Regions from separate parts of the Homo sapiens genome. Here all the other regions are linked to region 3. Evidence: promoter capture Hi-C in human tissues and cell types (Jung and others, 2019). All regions are on one chromosome and are shown on one strand. The core of a region is centred on a gene start or on the middle of the fragment in contact, and the rest is flanking DNA. Distances in the headings are between cores, read along the strand shown. Region 1 overlaps TGFBR3 (transforming growth factor beta receptor 3). Region 2 overlaps EVI5 (ecotropic viral integration site 5). Region 3 holds the start of GLMN (glomulin, FKBP associated protein).

Region 1 (4,366 bases), core at 1,754-4,253, 490 kb before region 3:
TCTCAGCCAATAGCACTGCCTCACTTCAATCGAGCTTCATGAGAAGGAATGTTACCAACACAGGATATGACGCAAAAACAAAGCTCCAAGAAAAAAACACCTGGAATGCCCTGAGCTCACAAACACGCCTGACGTGTACATAACATATGCTCATGTTTGTACCATCTCAAATTACAATTCATTGGAACTACAGCGCCTTGGGGATGGAGCGGTGGAATGTACCACCATTAAACTCCAAAGAGGGCGCTTCTACCACAGCTCCTACCTGGGTTTTTCAACAATAAAACCTGGCTTCAGGCTGAAGCTTATCCCTAGTAGGAAAAAGGTAGACAAGTCCTAAAACTTGTAATTTGGATTTCTCAGGGGGAAAAAAACTAGATTTTTCTACAGCACAACTCTTAGGCATATCTTATCATGGTTTCTTTCACCCTCCAAGCAAAATCTACATCCAAACCTTCCTCCTAACAAACTAACCCTCTTCCAAGAAGTCAACCACCAACTTTTTGGGCCAAAAGCCAGTGCATATTTGTGTATTGTTGTGTTGAAATCATGGAGCAACCATGTTGGAGAATTTCCTGTATTCAATTGTGTTTTCAAATGTTCAAAAGGAAACAAAGGGCACAGGTTCTTTAGGAATCCAAATTCTCAAAGTGTTGGGAAGTGCCAAGCTATAAAAGGCACATACTCTTCCATCTAAACAAGATACCACTATACAATCTGGACGTGCCAACAGAGGGGGATTTCTGCAGCCCTCTGAGGAAGTGGTGCTGTTATGTTTCATGGTTTTTATGACCTGAAGTGAAGCAGTGGCATGTCTCAGAAGTCACCACTGGACATAGCAAGAGGTGTCCTTGTATTACAGAAGCACCGGGAAATAGTGAACCAGGAGATACAGGAGCTGGGTTTTAAGCATTCCATGATCTCTTATTCTATGACAGGCTTGACTTATAGATCAAATGATGCACTATATGTGAAAACGCTTTACAAACTTCAAATACTATTAGAGACATAAAGTCCCTTGAGGGGAAGAGAAATAAATGAATGAGAACATTTTCTCCAATCAAAAACTGTTTTCTCTAAAAACTTTTAGAATGATTAATAAAATATCTAAGATAAGATGTTCTTATACTACTCCCTAGCATTACTCCCCAGAAATTATTTCTATGAATTGCACTGGAAAGACTTAAAATAAAACTACAGCTGGGCATGTACTCCCTGTAATCATGCCTGTAATCCCAGCACTATGGGAGGCCAAAGCAGGAGTGCTTGAGGCCAGGACTTCAAGACCAGCCTGGGCAAAATAACCAGACCCCCATCTCTTTAAAAAAATTTTTTTAATTAAATTAAACTATGCACAGTATTAGAGTAAAAATTCCTGTTCTCTGAGCACATTCTGGAAGTACAACTCCCAAAGGCGAGAACAGGCCATGTTTCTGCCTCCAGGGAATTCCATCAATCCATAAAGACAATCAGTTGGCATCATCTTGGCCAACAGTTCTTCTGATTTACTTTGTTTGGTATTTTGTTTTGTTTTGTTTTTGGAGACACAGTCTCACTCTGTCGCCCAGGCTGGAGCACAGTGGCGCAATCTCAACTCACTGCAAATTCCGCCTCCTGGGTTCGAGTGATTCTCCTCCCTCAGCCTCCCAAGTAGCTGGAATTACAGGCATGCACCACCACACCCGGCTAATTTTTGTATTTTTAGTAGAGATGGGGTTTCACCATGTTGGCCAGGCTGGTCTCAAACCCTTGGCCTCAGGTGATCCACCTGCCTCTGCCTCAGCCTCCCAGAGTACTGGAAGTGAGTCACCACACCGAGCACTGATTTACTTTTGACCAATAATATGGTGCACCTGTCCCTATTCTTCTCACAAGAAGGAAGCTTAAACAGAAGGAGACACTGGCTACAGCATTCATTTTGGAGGGGATAAGAATTTATGGGATGTTACTGCCTAATTGGCTCAGAACAGAGACCAAGAACAAATCTGAAGGTTTGAAGGATGGGAGAAAATAAGATCTTTTTTCTCCTACCCTATGAATTTGGCAGATACAAAATAACTGAAGGATAGTACACTTCTTTATTAAAATGCAAATGCTTTATCGACTTAGATTCAAAATATTAAACTGAACTTTATCCCATAAAAAAATTACAACTTAATTCCTACTAATGCAATATCTGATGGCAAAGTAAGACTTGCAGAGCTACAAAGCTACACCTCATTAACCCTGAGGGATGACATTACCAAATCTGTTCATCTCTCAGACCTTGATTTGTACCTAAGATGATCACTAATTTTCTCTTTTTTATCATTTGCAAACTGGTGTCTAGCAAGAAAGAAAAAGATGGGAGAAAGAGAGGTAAGAATGTGTGCAAAAGCACGGAGGAATAACATGCATTGCATGTGGCATGCTCTGGGCCTGGTGAGCATTCTGTTAGGGCTGGTGGCCAGGGTCTGGGGTGCAGAGTCTGAAGCAGAGACAAGTGGCAAGATGAGAAACTGTAAGAGGGTCAGGAAGGGCAGAAGGGGGAAACCACAACTGCTGGGGAGTTGAATCATCGCCTATAACCACTGGTCCTGATTGCAGATAGGAGACCATGGATTAAAAAAGGAAAATCTGCAAACTTTTGGTTTGGCTGTGCAAAATATTGTTAATTACAGCCATGTGTACACACTGGGCCACGAACTAAAACACATTTACTTTAAGGAGTTTATACATAATCAGGGCACTCACAATTGGTTACAGGAATGAGTCAAATGCTTAACACTGAATGCCAAATTATTCAGCTTAATATATAGGTCCCAATTATAAGACTAAACTCTATTCCTTCCTCTTCAGGCTAGCTAGCCTGCTGCTTCAGGTGCTTCTGTTAGGAGGGAAACTGAGAGCTGACATTTGCAGAGAAATTATGAACACCTGGTCACTGGTGTGCTCTTGCTCCTTTCACAGTGAAGCTAAAAGGCTCTGAGAAGCTGTGGACCTGGTTTTTCCAGAGCTTGTGGCAGTTACAGGCCCATCAAGCAGTGCCATCAACAGAACTACTCAGTGTAGACTGGGTCTTAGAGAGACAGAAGGATTGTGCTCGGCTCAGTTGCTGTGGTTCAGAACCACAGTTTTTTGGGGGTAAGTGGACGGGGACAAGGTCTGGCTTTGTTGCCCAGGCTGGAGTACCATGGTGCGATCTGGGCTCACTGCAACCTCTACCTTCCAGGCTCAAGCCATCCTCCCACCTCGGCCTCCCGAATAGCTGAGACTACAGGTGTGTGCCACCACACCAGCTCATGTCTTATATTTTTTGTAGAGACGGGGTTTTGTCATGTTGCCCAGGCTGGTCTCAAACTCATGAGCTCAAGCAATCCACCTGCCTTGGCCTCCCAAAGTGCTGAGATTACAGGCATGAGCCACCGTGCCTGGCCCAGAACTACACTTTTGTATTGCACCTGATAAAATTCAGAGGTCCCTTAAACTGTTACACCTGTTACTCCTTTATAGCAAATATAAGCTTTTATAAATCTATTGCTTCATTTATTTGGGCATATGTTTGTGTGTCCTCTACTTACCAGAAACTCCATGAGGGCAAGGACTGTGTTTCTTTTACTTCCTCTCTCCCAGTGCTTGACACAGTGCCTGGCATGCGGCACGTGTTCATAAACATTTGTTGAGTGATGAATTCATGTGCCAAACAACCAAACTCCCAAGCTGCTAATTCTCTAAGGACTATGGAGCCAGTCTCCTACGTTTAATCCCAGCGCTGCCACATTTTAGCCTTTTAACCTGGGGCAGCTACTTAGCCATTCCCTGCCTCTGTTTCTTTATCTATACAATGGGGATAATAACAGGATCTGCCCCATAAGACTGTTCTTAGGATCAACTCATTTTTATTATTGTATTACTGTAATTATTACCATCTCTTCAACTATGAGATGTGTTCTGGAAAAAAAAATGCAAAAGAGAAACTTCATCAAAGCACTTAGCTAAAGGAAACTACATCATTTGAGTGCCAAACCTAGCTCTGCGCTTTCTAGCAGGCAGGATGAAAAGAAAATATGATGCTCACATAGATATCATAAAAAGGAAACAAATCACAGGCAGGTGCAGTGGCTCACACCTGTAATCCCAGCACTTTGGGAGGCCAGGGTGGGAGGATTGTTTGAGCCCATAAGTTTGAGACCAGCCTGGGCAAGAGAGTGAGACCTCATCTCTACAAAAGATTAAAAAATTAGCCAGGCATGGTGGTGCACACCTGTAGTCCCATCTACTCAGGAGGCTGAGGTGGGAGAATCCCTTGAGCCCAGGGAGGTCAAGACTGCAATGAGCCAAGATAGTGCCACTGCACTCCAGTCTGGGTGACACAGTGAGACCTTGT
Region 2 (4,097 bases), core at 155-2,654, 370 kb after region 3:
AGGAATGGTGGTGATGAGCCTGGGCAACAGGGTGAAACCTTGTCTCTATGAAAAACACACACACACACATGCATGCATGCACACACATACACACACAGAATGGTGGTGCGAATCTGTCGTCCCAGCTACCTGGGAGGCTGAGGTGGGAGGCTGGGAGGTGGGGGCTGAGGTGGGGGGCTGGGAGGTGGGGGCTGAGGTGGGGGTGGTGGAAGTTGTAGTGAGCCGAGATTGGACCACTGTACTCCGGCCTGGGAGACAGAGTGAAACCCTGTGTCCAAAAAAGGGAGGGGAGGGGAGGGGAAGGGAGGGGTTGGGAGGGGAGGGAAGGGGAGAAGAAAGGAAAGGAAAGAGGAAAAAGAAAAGGAAAAAGAAGGGAAAGGAAAGGGATAAAGAAAGAGAAATAAATACACCACAGCAAAGGAAATACTCACATTCATCATTCCAGCTGTGATTAAATTTAAATACACTCTACAGTACATATAGAAATAAGCCCTTCCATTTCTATACATACTTACCATAATGACTCATAATCAAATATTTTCTTATGTGTTTTAACATCCTCATTAGACAAAAAAGATTCTAACTTGCCTACCTCCAACAGAGCCTACCTATATAATTAATATTCAAATGTCAGTTGAATGAAGAAACAGGAGATCTAAAAAATGCACGTTCATAGGCTAAACATCAAATTTTCCATTTAGGGCCTGGCTCAGTGGCTCACACCTGCAATCCACTTTGGGAGACCAGGCAGGTGGATCACTTGAGCTTGAGTTCAAGACCAGCCTGGACAACATGGCAAAACCCTGTCTCTACAAAAAATATAAAAATTAGCTGGGCGTAGTGGCATGTGCCTGTAGTCCCAGCTATTCAGGAGGCTCAGGGGGAAGACGGCCTCAGCCCTGGAAGTGGAGGTTGCAGTGAGCCAGTATCACATCACAGCATTCCATCCTGGGCAACAGAGCAAGACCTTGTCTCAAATTTAAAAAAAAAAAATTGCCCATTTAGACTTCAATAGTCTCCATTTATTATACAGTATAGATGACAAGTTGCAAAATTCTGAAAATACAAAGAATTTATTAATTTTTTCTGAGAAAACAACTCCAATTACTAGTATCTCCTCATAGTTCAAAAAGTAAAACCAGATTTTTTTGAAAAGCACTTTACCTAATTATTCAATGCCTGGTTCCCAAAAAACTTGTCTAATTACTGTCATTAAGTATTAAATCCAAGTCACTCTACATTTTTAAAAAGTTATTTTTGCATATCCACCAGTATAATTGCTTATTAATCCCCTTTATAAGTTATCTTTTCATTTTCAAATTCCTCAGATGTTGTCCCACTCTGTCGCCCAGGCTGGAATGCAGTGGTGCGATCTCAGCTCATTGCAACCTCTGCCTCCCAGGTTCAAGCGATTCTCCTGACTCAGCCTCCTGAGTAGCTGGACCTACAGGCACATGCCACCACGCTCAGCTAATTTTTTGTATTTTTAGTAGAGAGGGGGTTTCACCGTGTTAGCCAGGATGGTCTTGATCTCCTGACCTCATGATCCGCCCGCCTCAGCCTCCCAAAATGCTGGGATTACAGGCATAAGCCTCTGTGCCCGGCCTCAAGGTGATAACTTACTTTTTTGTACCAATTTGTTCCAGAACTCAATCAAGGGCCTTCTTCCAGCCCCACCTTCCTATAAATTTCTGCTAAAAAATGTCTGTCTCAGAAAATTCTTCCATCAATTCAACCTATTATTTTGCCAGTAAAGACTTAAATATGGCTTTATATAACATATAAAGTATTAGTTCAGGGAAATGAGAGACTCTATGAATTACTGCATCTTATTAAAGTGGATCACAAATTGAAACAAATCTTAGAGTTATTACAAAGATACTTGGCAAATTAGATTTCTTGTTCTATTCACTAAAATTCAGATGATCTGAAATAGACATTATGATATACAGGAAAGTTAATAACTAATCTCAGACAAAATAACAGCTTGAGAAGTAGAAAATGTTCTTATGTCTTGGCTCCTCCTACTGTGTGCAGCATAGTAGTCTACACAAATAAGCAATTATTAAATGCTGCTAAAGTCTAGAGAGCCAAAGAAATAAATGGGATTCTCAAAATGTTCTCAATCATATTTCATCAACAAAAGGTAATGTTTTATCTTAAAAGATTTAGAAAACTAAGTTCCCACCAGACAACTGAGTGAATAAAGTTATGACAGAAATCATGCTAAAATAAAATTTAGAACTGAAAACACTCATCTGGATTTCCTTCCCCAACCCCTTTTACGGCTTCTGAAATCTATTTCATTATAAATAAAAATCTAAATTGATTTTCTCCCACAAACAACTAACCAAATGCTTAACACCATTTAAAAAATAAATCACCACTTCCTCATTTGTATAATATTTACATCAGGAATTGATCAATAGACTTTTTCAGTTAATACAGACCATTTCAGGGTTACTTTTACGTTTCAAGTGTTACTGTCTTCTTTTTTTAAAACTAATATCACAGTATTTTGGTAATTATAGCTTTGCTATCTGTTTTAATACCTAGTAGAGCTAATATCCCCTGTTCTTACATTTGTTTATTGTTCCCAAACCCCAAATACTAGTATACTAAAGTAGCTAAGAGACTAGGTTTTGAAGTTAGGCAGATTTAAGTTCAAATTCTCATTCTACAATTAACACTTGCACATGACATTCAATGTTTTAGAATCTCCATTTCCTCATCCAGAAATTAAGAGTAATCAAACCTACAGGGAACTGAAAAATTAAATGAGATAGCATAGCACCTAATATATGCCAAATACTCAGTTAATGATAAGCACTGCCCACAATAGTTTTGAAGTTAGGCATGAATATTATTTTACTACTTTTGTCTATTTTTAGAATTATTCTTAAGATTTTTTTATTGCCCTGGAATTTTACAAGGAATTAAATTTCACTGAATTTGAGGGCCAGGTACAATGGTTTACAGCTGTAATCCCAGAACTTTGGGAGGCCAAGGCAGGTGGATCACTTGAGGCCAGAAGTTCGAGACCAGCCAGGCCAACATGGCAAAACCCCATCTCTACTAAAAATACAAAAATCAGCCTGGCATGGTGGCGCATGCCTGTAATCCCAGCTACTTAGGAGGCTGAGGCAGGAGAATCACTTGAATCCAGGAGGTGAAGGTTGCAGTGAGCCAAGACCATGCCACTGCACTCCGGCCTGGGCAACGGAGCAAGGCTCTGTCTCAAAAAAAAAAAAAATCACTGGGAAATTCATATCTTTATATAACATGGAGCTATTTTTGTCTATCTTTAGTTATCTTTTTAAAATGTCTGTGTGTAAAGTTTTCCAGTGTTTGTTAGGTCCTATTCTATTTTTCATTTAGGTTACTCCTAGATATACTTTTATTTTTATTTCAAATGGAACTTCTTCCAGTATATTTTTGAACTGTTTATTGACGATACATAGAAAGGTTAATAACTAAAATCTACCACCTGATTGATTCTCAATAATTCTTCAATATCTTCCTCACATTTTCTAGAATAGAGTGCTTCCTAAACTTTAAAGTGAAAACCACAGAGAGGAAGATACCTAGATATAGCTACATACAAATGTTTATCTTGTACATTGAAAAAGAAAATAGAGACAATTTTTTGACCTACCAAATTAGAAAAAAAAGAGACTAAAAGTGAGAGCAAGAATGAAATACTTAGTGTTGGCAAAGTAGTCATTAAATGGAAACTTGTTGCTAAGACAAACATACCCTGGACACATTCTTTAGGAAATTTACGTATTATACATCAAAAGTCTTTAAAATGCTAATATCTTGTAACTTATTAATTCTACTTTTTATAACTGGCTATGGAAATAATAATAGGAGACAAAAAACTTGTTATATACAAAGATGTTAACCATTAGCATTATTTTTAATAAGAAAAACTGAAAACAACCTTATATCCTGAAATAGGATAATCTCATTTCAAATAACCCACTCTTCAATCACTATTTCCTATTCTTTCCAGCTTACTCAGTTTACAAAGTAACCCAACCCCAACAATTGTTTTCACTGAGACAGTCTAGTGATCCCAACAACTTTTCACTGTC
Region 3 (4,297 bases), core at 1,559-4,058:
ATTACACTGTGATATCAAGAAAGAAAACTTCTAATAAATAAGTAGCACTGCAAATGAAGAAAGAGTGTGTACCTAGAAGGAAGATGGTCTTTGTATTAGTCTGTTCTCATGCTGCTATGAAAAAATACCCAAGCCTGGGTAATTTAGAAAGAAAAGAGGTTTAATTGACATGCAGTTCCACATGGCTAGGGAGGCCTCAGGAAACTTAACAATCATGGCGGAAGGCACCTCTTCACAGGGCAGCAGGAGAGGGACTGAGTGCCAACAGGGGAAATGCCAGATGGTTATAAAACCATCAGACCTGGTGAGAACTCACTCCCTATCATGAGAAGCATGGGGAAACCACCCCCATGATTCAATCACCTCCACCTGGTCCCATCCTTGACACACAGGGATTATTACAATTCAAGGTGAGATCTGGGTGGGGACACAGAGCCAAACCATAGCCGTCTTCCTTATAAGGAGTATCCAAAGACACAAAATTTGGCAGGATGTTGCCAACACAGTGTCCCAGGAAAAAGTTATTCCTGATCCACAAATAAGATCCTTTTCCATTGTGGAGGATGATTTCTCAAACCATTGTAACTGGATGATACTGGCTAGTATAATGACATATCGTTTTCCTCCTGTTCTGATTCTATGCACATAAAATACTGTTTTAATTAAAATTTGGTTTTCCATACACATTTGGCTGGAGGAGAATGGGCTGATCACCCAAAATGAATATTTAGCCTGCTTGATATGTATATTTCTCATTGTAAATTAATGACTCAAACACCATTTTTGGACTCCCTAAACCAGAAGTAATTCTGTTTCTTCTAAAAACTCTTTACTTCAACTATAGCAATTATTTATTTTGCCTCATTATTGTTAGTTGTTTACATGTTTATGTTTGACCAGATGGTAAAAACCTTCAAGTATATGACTGTTTCTTTTCTTTTTTTTTTTTTTTTTTCTGAGACAGGGTCTTACTCTGTTGCCCAGGCTGGTCTCAAACTCCTGGGCTCAAGTGATCTGCCTGCCTTGGCCTCCCATAACGCTGTGATTACGAACGTGAGCCACTGCGCCTGGCCTAAATATTTCTAATTCTTTTTTTGTTTTCAGTTCCCTACTGTGAAAATTTAAGTAGATTCTTAAATGTTTGATGGATAAATGACTGGATGAATAGCATCATGTGATTATTCTCTTCCCAAGACTGAAAAGTAAACACCAAGATTGTACGCACCTTATTCTTTTCATTTTGAATAATTTCTAATAGCTGGTCTGTGTGCCCTTCTTCTATGCATCTTTGCCCAGCTAACTGAAATAGGCCAAAATCCTCTTCTTTAAAGTCTTGCTCTTCTAGGATTTGCTGGCAAAAAAAAAAAAAACCCAAAAAACAAACAAAAAAAAGTATATGCAAATAAAAATTAAATACAATAACTTCTTGATTTATCTATGAAAAAAGGAAATCTGTTTAAATTCTAGATAAATGTAACGTAAATAACACACGTATCAAAATTAGGATTACCCTAATAAATACTTTAATAAGTGACCTTGAAATCTACTGTACCAGTGAAATCTATGAAAAGGATCAGGATTAAAATGTAAAAGGTTATTTAGATAAGTATGTCACCTGGAGAAATAATCCAATCTGCCTCCCCCACTCATGCTCTTTACAGGTCAAAAAAAGCAAGGATTAAAGAAGATAAACAATTTGAGTGACCACAAATATAATTAAAAACAATCTGTGCCCTTCCCATATTTTGAAAGGTATTTAATTTTACAAAAATTAATACTTACACATCTCTTTATTATAGACTGAAGTTCCTCTACAGCCATTCTTATTTCTCCTAGTTTCGATGCTAAAATCTACAAATACAAAACACACTGTTAACTATCCGTGATATTACACTTAAGTATTCAAAAGTTATGTTTCAGTGTGATAAATTATTAGTAAATACAATAAAGAAAATGGAAAGTTTTTGTTGTTGTGTTTTTTGGTCCAATAGCATGCTAGGAGAAAATGTAAAGTTTTAAAGTTGAAATGTTATTACTGAATCTTAGTATGTTTGCCTAAGAAAATAAAGTGTTTTTTTAGAAGCCCTTATTGCATGTTTTAAGTTTTCTAGGAGCATAGTTTTGAAAGCTACTTTGAAGGAAAAAAAAACAAAAAAAACCTCTCGAGCACTCCCAAGAGGCGAGGCATATACGAACTAAAGGGCTTTTAAAAAGCAAAGCACTTCTTTTCTGAAAAAAAATTTCCAAAAGGTGGACCTGAAATCAAAATTCTAATCATCAGGGGATTTTTCATTTTTAATGTCTCACCTCACAAAAATTGGGGTGCAACACAAGCTTATCTATAGGGGGTGAAGATTCAGATGCCCTCCATTCCATTTCTCTCTAGGAGTTGCAGTCCCCAAAGTGATCAATCCAGCTAGTGAAATCACTGTATCACACGGAGACAAGACAACGGCGGCCTTCAGGAGGAGACCATCGCTTCTCCTGGCGGCAAGGCTCGGCCCCAAGCCCTCAGTAGGGGCGCGAGTCAGCCCGGTCCTCAGGGCAGCGCGCTGGAAGGCGAGTGAACACCCCAGCGCGCGTGCGGGCTGCATCAGAGGAAGCCATGTCTTCCGATTCCTGCTCGCCTAGGTGGGCAGGCTCCACCACCTCGCGTGGCCTAGTCGGCCCGCAGCACCAAGTCCGCCGCGGCTCACGGCCAACCGCGAGCCCTGGCCACCCTGAACCTCTCCACAACTCCACTTACCGGCCAGAACCCTCGCCTCTCCCAGCCGCCGCCACCTCCTCCGGCGTCTTAGCCCGCTCTTCTGGCCCCGCCCCGCGCTACGCGTAGGGAGGCGGGGCCTCGGGGCGAGACGCCGGAGCGTGTCCCCGTCCGGCAGACTACTCTCCCCCATGGCGGACTTCGCTGGGCCGTCTTCTGCCGGCCGCAAGGCCGGGGCTCCCCGCTGCTCTCGAAAAGCCGCAGGTAGGAGCAAGGATCTCTTCCCACTTTTGGACCCTGAAAGCTGGGCCCCGATCTCGAGTTATAGACCGCAGCGCGCGGGCGCTCCTGAAAGGCTGCTTCAGGGGAGGGGTTCTCCCAGGTAGAGTAGGCCGAAAGCTTCCCACCGCCGTCCGCACCTCCTGGGAAAGATTTCCTGGCCGCCCCTCACCCCTTTACGCCAGTGTTCCAAGATTTCCCTCACGCGGACTGTGGCCCCAGCCTCTGAGACAAAGGACAGTGGAGGCCCCGGGAACCCAGGCCTGGGGTCCCCGGGTTTCGGGGCAAGTGACTAGGGCAGCGTTGGCAGCTGGCCTTGAACCTAGGACCGGTCCTCCTTTCCAGATTGCTTGGGTGCCCAGTTCTTTAAGGTGCCGGACTCCCCTCTTCCCCCAGAGAGGACGTTTGGCAGACGGAGAGAGGTTTCCCCTAAAAGTACCCAGATCTCAGATTTTCAGGAGTGGTTAATTAAGCAACTATGATACAGAAGAAAATTCAATCCCCAAAGAGATACATTTTAACCAAGAAAAATTAGACAGTAATCAATTTGCAAAAACAAATTGCTCTCCCTTCCTATTTCATTTTGATTTACACACGATTGGACATAAAATATGTGGAAAAGAAGAAAAGGTGGTCTACAGTTTGTTATTTGTGTAGGAATCTATCTTGTACCTAATGTGTTTGTGTAGACCTGACCTACTGCCACCATGTGTAGCTTAACTGCGGGGATGCATTTTGAGAAATAAGTTGTTAGTCGATTTCATCCTTGTGTGACCATCATCGAGTGCACTTACACAAACCTAGATGGTACAGCCTACTTACACACTAGGCTATATGGTACAGCCTATTGCTCCCAGGCTACAAACCTGCACAGCATGTTACTGTACTAAGTACTGTAGGCAACTGTATATCTAAACATAGAAAAGGTACAGTAAAAATACAGTATTTTAATCTTATGAGACCGCTGTCTGTATGCTGTCCGTCGTTTACGGAAATGTCATTATGTAGCACATGACTGTATTTTTATTGTAGGTACTAAACAGACAAGTACTTTGAAACAAGAAGATGCTTCTAAAAGGTATGACAGCTACATGGACAACTACATTGGCATATCTACTTATCTTGTATTACTTGTACCAATTTTAAAACAATAATGGTTACCTTTTTTTTTTTAGAGAAAATTATCATGAGAGGGAAGGGAAAGATCTGGGAAGGCCTATAAATTCTCACATAGACTGTTACATTCCTCTACTCCAGGCTTTAAGAAAACCAAACTAAGCACTCAGACTGCTAGTGAAGGAATGAGTGTCTGTA

The links. The method cuts DNA at HindIII sites, captures the fragments that hold promoters and counts their contacts. A contact is called where the count stands out against the background at its distance.
Region 1: a fragment that was not itself captured here is called in contact with the fragment with the promoter of GLMN in region 3 in 1 of the 25 tissues and cell types used here (heart right ventricle).
Region 2: a fragment that was not itself captured here is called in contact with the fragment with the promoter of GLMN in region 3 in 1 of the 25 tissues and cell types used here (heart left ventricle).

What each region holds. Positions count from the first base shown.
Region 1 is chr1:91,806,943-91,811,308 of GRCh38, forward strand. The region is part of intron 2 of TGFBR3 (transforming growth factor beta receptor 3); the gene reads right to left. Among named protein-coding and RNA genes, the nearest start is that of TGFBR3, 77 kb to the right of the region's middle. RefSeq lists an enhancer at 2,610-2,719. The HindIII fragment of the contact is 3,821 bases long and covers 1,094-4,366 here.
Region 2 is chr1:92,666,309-92,670,405 of GRCh38, forward strand. All of the region lies in intron 10 of EVI5 (ecotropic viral integration site 5), which reads right to left. Among named protein-coding and RNA genes, the nearest start is that of EVI5, 120 kb to the right of the region's middle. The HindIII fragment of the contact is 7,230 bases long and covers 1-4,097 here.
Region 3 is chr1:92,296,179-92,300,475 of GRCh38, forward strand. It overlaps GLMN (glomulin, FKBP associated protein), which reads right to left and starts at 2,809. Exons shown (of 19, transcript NM_053274.3): 1 at 2,747-2,809; 2 at 1,783-1,851; 3 at 1,226-1,351. The coding sequence starts at 1,821. It overlaps RPAP2 (RNA polymerase II associated protein 2), which reads left to right and starts at 2,881. Exons shown (of 13, transcript NM_024813.3): 1 at 2,881-2,968; 2 at 4,016-4,061. The coding sequence starts at 2,896. RefSeq lists enhancers at 1,907-2,803, 2,375-2,844, 3,065-3,294 and a silencer at 2,306-2,643. The HindIII fragment of the contact is 5,439 bases long and covers 1-4,182 here.